Regions from separate parts of the Homo sapiens genome. Here region 1 is linked to region 2. The links are contacts of gene promoters, found by promoter capture Hi-C in blood cells and fetal thymus (Javierre and others, 2016). All regions are on one chromosome and are shown on one strand. Each heading gives the region's core, a stretch centred on a gene start or on the middle of the fragment in contact. The rest is flanking DNA. Distances are from core to core; before and after follow the strand shown.

The links. Contacts are between HindIII fragments. The CHiCAGO score rates a contact against its expected background, and 5 or more counts as called.
Region 1: a fragment that was not itself captured here is called in contact with the fragment with the promoter of TINAGL1 in region 2 in 1 of 17 cell types (M0 macrophages); the score reaches 5.1 in M0 macrophages.

What each region holds. Positions count from the first base shown.
Region 1 is chr1:31,201,427-31,204,730 of GRCh38, reverse strand. All of the region lies in intron 1 of NKAIN1 (sodium/potassium transporting ATPase interacting 1), which reads left to right. Among named protein-coding and RNA genes, the nearest start is that of NKAIN1, 37 kb to the left of the region's middle. The HindIII fragment of the contact is 8,220 bases long and covers 1-3,304 here.
Region 2 is chr1:31,575,082-31,578,228 of GRCh38, reverse strand. It overlaps TINAGL1 (tubulointerstitial nephritis antigen like 1), which reads right to left and starts at 1,714. Exons shown (of 12, transcript NM_022164.3): 1 at 1,634-1,714; 2 at 771-1,095. The coding sequence starts at 1,080. It overlaps LOC105378626 (a long non-coding RNA gene), which reads left to right and starts at 332. Exons shown (of 6, transcript NR_188671.1): 1 at 332-385; 2 at 2,559-2,819. RefSeq lists an enhancer at 1,183-1,903. The HindIII fragment of the contact is 15,245 bases long and covers 1-3,147 here.

The DNA of each region.
Region 1 (3,304 bases), core at 234-2,733, 370 kb after region 2:
TAATTATGTGGTGTTCTTCATTGTACTTAGTTGGGGAATCTGATTAATCACCATTTTATTTATCCAAATGTTCATTTATCTGCAGCCGGCGTCTCCTGGGAGAGCCTTGTTTTTGCTGAGCTTGCCCTTCCTGGATTGTCTTCCCCTTCACCCCTGTCTTAAGTGCTCCTCTTTGGAGGGCACCTTCTTTCCAGGCCTTGGCTGCCCACTCCAGAGCTTGCCGGGGTCCCGGCATCTGGGAGATGGGACTGGGGATGCCTCAGTAGTTTAGACGTGGGAACATGGGCAGAAGTAGAGTAGGAATTGACAAGAAGATGGGAGTCCTGGGAGAGTGGGACCTCAGGCATGGAGGATTCTGGGCCCTGTCTCAGCTTGCCAAGAAAGGCCTCAGCATCTCCTCCTGGTCTCCCACTTCCAGTCCATCCTCCTCCTGTAGCCAGACAGCACTGCACCCAAAGCACCCAGCTTCCATGTCTCTATGCTCAGACCTTCCCTGCCTCCTAGGGACCAGCAGAATAAAGCCCTGGGTCCAAGGTCCAGCCACATCTCTTCCCCACCCTGCCACCCCTCATTTCATTCATCCAGAGCCACCCCAGGCCTCCAAGCTGTCCATACCCTCTCCATATCATGTGACCAGCTTGTCCCAGTTTGCCCAGGACTTTTGGAACTTGTCCCTGAAAGTGCTGTGCTCTAAGAAACCCCATGGTCTCAGGCACACTGGGACAGTTGGTCATCCTCAGCTCAGGGTCACCCACAGTCTCAGGCAGACTCATGGGGGTGTGCTCATTTGTCGCCATCAGTTTTGTCTTTGAATGTGTTTGTTCACTTATAAAAATATTACTCATAGGCCGAGCGCAGTGGCTCACGCCTGTAATCCCAGCATTTTGGAAGGCCGAGGCGGGCTAATCACTTGAGGTCAGGAGTTCAAGACTAGCCTGGCCAACATAGTGAAACCCCATCTCTACTAAAAATACAGAAATTGGCCAGGCGTGGTGGTGGGTGCCTGTAATCCCAGCTACTCAGGAGGCTGAGGCAGGAGAATTGCTTGAACCTGGGAAGCAGAGGTTGCAGTGAGCCAAGATGGTGCCACTGCACTCCAGCCTGGGTGACAGAGCAAGACTCCGTCTCAAAAAAAAAAAAAAATTACTCCTCGATGTAAAAACCTTGCAGAAATATATCTGGCTGAATCTCAAAGGCCCCCATAATCCCATTCCCTAGAGTTAACAAATTAACAGTTTGATGATTCTTTGTTTTGTTGTTATGCGTGAAAACAGCGTTGTCCTACTCAAGTGGCTCTGCAGCGCCGTTTCAAACGTGGTAGCTTGGCCCTCTTCCCACACTCCATCATAATGGCTGCATTGTGTTGAATCGTGTGGAGGCACTGTCATTGACTGTGACCCCTTCTGAGGGACATCCACAGTGTTTTCATTATTTTTTATTTATTTTATTTTATTTTTTATTTTTTTGAGATGGAATCTCGCTCTGTCACCTAGGCCAGAGTGCAGTGGCGCAATCTCGGCTTACTGCAACCTCTGCCTCCCGGGTGCAAGTGATTCTCCTGCCTCAGCCTCCCGAGTAGCTGGGATTACAGCCACCATGCCTGTCTAATTTTTGTATTTTTTGTAGAGATGGGTTTCACCATGTTGGCCAGGCTGGTCTCGAACTCCTGACCTCAGGAGTCCGCCCACCTTGGCTTCCCAAAGTGCTGGGATTACCCGCGTGAGCCACTGCCCCTGGCCTTTTTTTTTTTTTTTTAAGACGGAATCTCGCTCTGTCACCAGGCTAGAGTGCAGTGGTGTGATCTCAGCTCACTGCAACCTCCACCTCCTGGGTTCAAATGATTCTCTTGCCTCAGCCTCCCGAGTAGCTGGGACTACAGGCGCACACCACCACGCCCAGCTAATTTTTATATTTTTAGTAGAGACAGGATTTCACCATGTTGGCCAGGATGGTCTCAATCTCTTGACCTCGTGATCCGCCCACCTTGGCCTCCCAAAGTGCTGGGATTACAGGGGTGAGCCACTGTGCACAGCCTGATTTTTTTTTTTTTTTTTTTATACAGAGTCTCCTCTGTCGCCCAGGCTGGAGTGCGGTGGCACAATCTCAGCTCACTGCAAGCTCCACCTCCTGGGTTCACACCATTCTCCTGCCTCAGCCTCCTGAGTAGCTGGGACTACAGGTGCCCACCACCACACCCGGCTAGTTTTTTGTGTTTTTAGTAGAGATGGGGTTTCACCGTGTTAGCCAGGATGGTCTCGATCTCCTGACCTCGTGATCCGCCCACCTCGGCCTCCCAAAGTGCTGGGAATACAGAGATGAATGAACCACCCTGCCTGGTCCCCGGCCTGATTTTTTTTTAGACTTCCCCTTGGTAGCACCCTGGGCCGTTTGGCCCAGGATTTATGCAAATTAATGTAGATATATGCTAATTAGATCACTGCCAGGCACTTTGTTCTAATGGAGTTGCCAGCTCAGAGGTGCAGTGGGTTGGATCTGCCCAGAAGGGGCTTGCAGAGCCCCCCAGCTGGGGAAGGGGTGGGGATGGGTCAGTGGTCACTGAGATGAGGGGATGGGGTTACCATGGAGACAGAGGCCAGGAGCCTGCTGCTGCCTCCTGACAAGACCAGGGCTGGCCCAATCAGTCGCATCCTGGGCCTCCCTAGCAGCTCCAAGCTGGTCTCTGAGGGCTAATGATGCAGAAGGTGAGCAGATGCTCCCTGGCTCCCCAGGCCCAGCGGAGGTAGAGGGCTGGGCCGCAGCAGGAGGGCGTGCAGACAGGCAGATGGCAGTCAGGGGATTGGGGGTCCAGGACCTGTCCCGAGGAGGAGGAAGATTACCCCTCCAGGGTGGAAGGCACCTCCAGCAGTGCCATAAGGGGTGAGACTCCCAAATGCTGGGGCATGCAAACAGGCTGGGCGGCCAAATCTCAAAGAGCACCTTGGTAAGAAGTGGTGGAAAAGAGCAAGGGTTTGGCCCCAGACTGGTTGGAGTCAGCCGTTCTGCGTCCCCTTAGGCAAGCCTGCCACTGCTCTGGGCCTCAGTTTCCTCATTTATAAAAAGGGGTAGGATTGGCCGGGCGCGGTGGCTCACGCCTGTAATCCCTGCACTTTGGGAGGCCCAGGAGGGAGGATCACGAGGTCAGGAGATCGAGACCATCCTGGCTAACACGGTGAAACCCTGTCTCTATTAAAAATACAAAAAAAAATTAGCCGGGCATGGTGGCGGGCACCTGTAGTCCCAGCTACTTGGGAGGCTGAGGCAGGAGGATGGCGTGAACCCGGAAAGCAGAGCTTGCAGTGAGCTG
Region 2 (3,147 bases), core at 465-2,964:
TTAAACTATAACTGAAGACAAATCCTGCAGGGTCACACACCAACTGCTGTTTGGGAAGTTCTTCAATGATTCCAACCTGGATTCCTCTTACTTTACTTGGATGCCAGCCACAACATTCCTGGGATCCTTTTCCATTTAAATAAGTTAGGGCTTGGAGATGGGGAGTGGGAGGAGCATGGGGAAGCCAAGGCCCAGAGAAGGTAAGCAACCGTCCTAAGATAACACAGCACTCTTGAGATGACAGCTCAGGTATGCAGTCTGCCGGCCCAAGCCCCATGGAACTGTGGGAAGGAACGCAAGTGATTCTCCTATTGGACAGGGGCAAGTGCATGGAAAAGGATGATGGTGAGGCTGAAAGCAGGAAAAGATTTGACCCATCTCCCAGGTATGAGCAGCCATCTCGGGGCACAGGATCCTAGAATCCTCAGCAAAGGCAGAAAAATGGCTAAGATGACCCTCACCAACCCATATGTGCCTTATCAGCCCAAGAGTGAGTCAGCAGGTGCGGCCAGCACCTTCCGTGTCTGGAAAAGAGACAGGATTGGGAGAAAATGTGGGAGGTTGCCCTTTCCCTGGGCCAAATTAGAATTCTAACCAAGGAGCTTCTTCAGTCTTGCTGGAGAGTAAAGTTCCCAGAGGGGCAGGGAAGAGTCCCAGATTCTACAGAGCTTCCCCTGGAAATGTCAGTGCATCCATCAGCTTTGCTCTTGAGCCTTGCTGAGTCTGAGGTGGACAAAGTGACCCACCCTCCTGGCCATCTTAGTGCCCACCTTGGATCGGGGGAAAAGGGGGTGGCACGCCGAGGCAGAAGTCCCAGAAGTCAGGGCAGCAGTCGGAGACCGTGCGGTTGCAGAAGAGGTCACAGTAACAGATGGCGCCCAGGTAGGGCAGGGCACAGTCGTCGGCACGGCCGCGGCAGCACAGGTCCTGCTCCTGGCAGTACCGGCCTCCCGCGTCCCGGATGCCCCGCAGGTGCAGACCCGGTGCTAGCTCCCGGCGCCCACGACCCTGCTGGGCACCCAGAGCCAAGTGGCCAGCCAGCGGCAGCAACAGCAGTAGCCCCAGTGGACATCGCCACATGGTGGCTCCTGGGCCCTGGGGGGCAGAGATGGTGGGCAGCAGAGACTCCCTGGAACACCAGGGATGAGTCTCCCAGTTTCCTGGAGCTGTGAGTTCAAGAGGGCCCAGCAGGGAGGGAGATCCCGATTCCTGAGTCCCCAGGCAGGACACGGGCAGAGGAGCCCCAGTGTGTGGGCCCTGGCTATAGGGGGATGGGGACTGGGCAGAAACGGAGCCCCTCCCTGACCTAGGCAGGGACCTTCAAGGACAAGGAAATGAGGGTGGTGGCATTCTTGGTGCTCCCACCCAACACTCATCCTGTGGACCCAAGGTCTTCTCTCCTGTCCTAGGTCTCTCTGCCCTCCAGCAGCCTCCATCCCTGACCTGGGTCCTTGACTTTGTGCTTTCCTGTCTCCCCCGGTCTTTTGGGTACACCTCTCTTCTGTTCCTGTGTCCCTCTGTCCCCCTCCACTGTCCCTCTCTCTGCCATCTGTCTTGGTTCCTCTACCTGCCCCCTCCCCCTGTTTCTTCTCTGTCTACACCTTCCGCCCTCTGAGCAGGGGAGCGTCCCTACCTGGTGAAGGTGTGGGCTGGGGCCCAGGCTGGCCCGCGCGCCTCCGCCTCCTGGCTCTGCGACCGCCGGACGCTCAAAGTCAAGAGAGGAGCGCGGGGCGGGGCGCTTTTTGTACCGCCCGCCCTCTGCACCGCCCCAGCAGTGGCGGAAGGGAGGGGCGCCTGGCTTGTACCTGGAGTAACTACCCCACAACTCATGGGCTTGCAGGGTGGAGAAACGACAAGCACACGATTGTCCTGGCTGGGTCTCCTGTGGCGGAAGCCGTTCCCTTAGGGGAACCCCAAGCAGGAAGGATTGCGGTTTCACACTGGGAAGGACTTCACAGTGGGCATCCCTGTGGAGCTGAGGGGCTCTGGTGGAGAAGGGGGGATATGGGCAGCCGAGCTCTGGGTTATGGACACAAGTTTGGGAAATGATGGGGAGGGCATGTGAGGCAAAATTCTGTAAGCCTCTCCTGACCCCTCGGTAATAAAAATAGCCATGCACACCCCTCTCCACTGTGCCCCCTAGGCTTGGGTGCCGCCCCCCTAGCCACCCCAGCTCCTAGGAATGATTGGAATTCCAGGAGTATGATCCTTAGGTGCCCTGGGCGGCTCATCCCTGGGAGGTGGGCAGGGTGTGGGGGTGGCCTCTGCACCCTTTGATCCCTTGTTGAGTCTGCCTTCCCTTGCCTGCTTGGGCCCCTAGACGAGCACTGCCCTCTCTAGCAAACCCAAGGGCATCCTGCTTGGCACCTGTCCCCCTCCAAGGGTCCAAAGGCAAGGGCCCTACCAGCTGGCACCCCCTGCAGAGGCCCTCCTTCCTGCCGCAGGCATAAACCTTTCTTTGCCCAGGCTGGCCTGGGACCCAAACAATGGGGCTTCTGTCCCGCCAGGTCTGCCGTCACCTTTTACCTCCCTATTGTGCAACGCCCTCTCTTCAACAGGTTGGGCCCAGGCCAGAGGTCTCTACCAGCAAAGAGGATAAAAGAGACTACACCTGGACAAACCCTCCCAGGCCCAGGCCTGAGCCTCACATGTGGCCCCGGGGAAGGCATCAGGGACTCCCTTTGCCCTCCCACTGACCTCCCTGCAAACCTCCCCCAAACCAAGGGGCATCCTCAGCTGGCCAGACCCTGGGGGAAGGGAGAGAGCCGAGGATCACCGGCACCTGTGGCTGGGTTACCCCTGCCATGGACCACTGGGTGGTGAGTCACCAAGGGGGTCCTGCCCTGGTGGTGGGGGTGGAGGGATAATATCCGGGGGCCCCAGCACTGGCACTAACACACCCAGGAGCTGCCCATCTGCTCCCTGCAGGGACCTGGGAGGACAAAGCCTAGGTGGGAAACTGAGGCTCAGAAGAATGCACTTGCCTGAGGTCGTGCAGCCAGAACACAGGCTCCCTGCCTGCCACCAGCCCACTCCTTTACCCCTAGTCACCCTTAGTCACCCACTACAGGTCTCAACGTGCTCCTGGTTGGGAAGTCTCTTTTCTTATCTAAACTCCATTCATCTTACTGCAGGACGGGCCCCTCG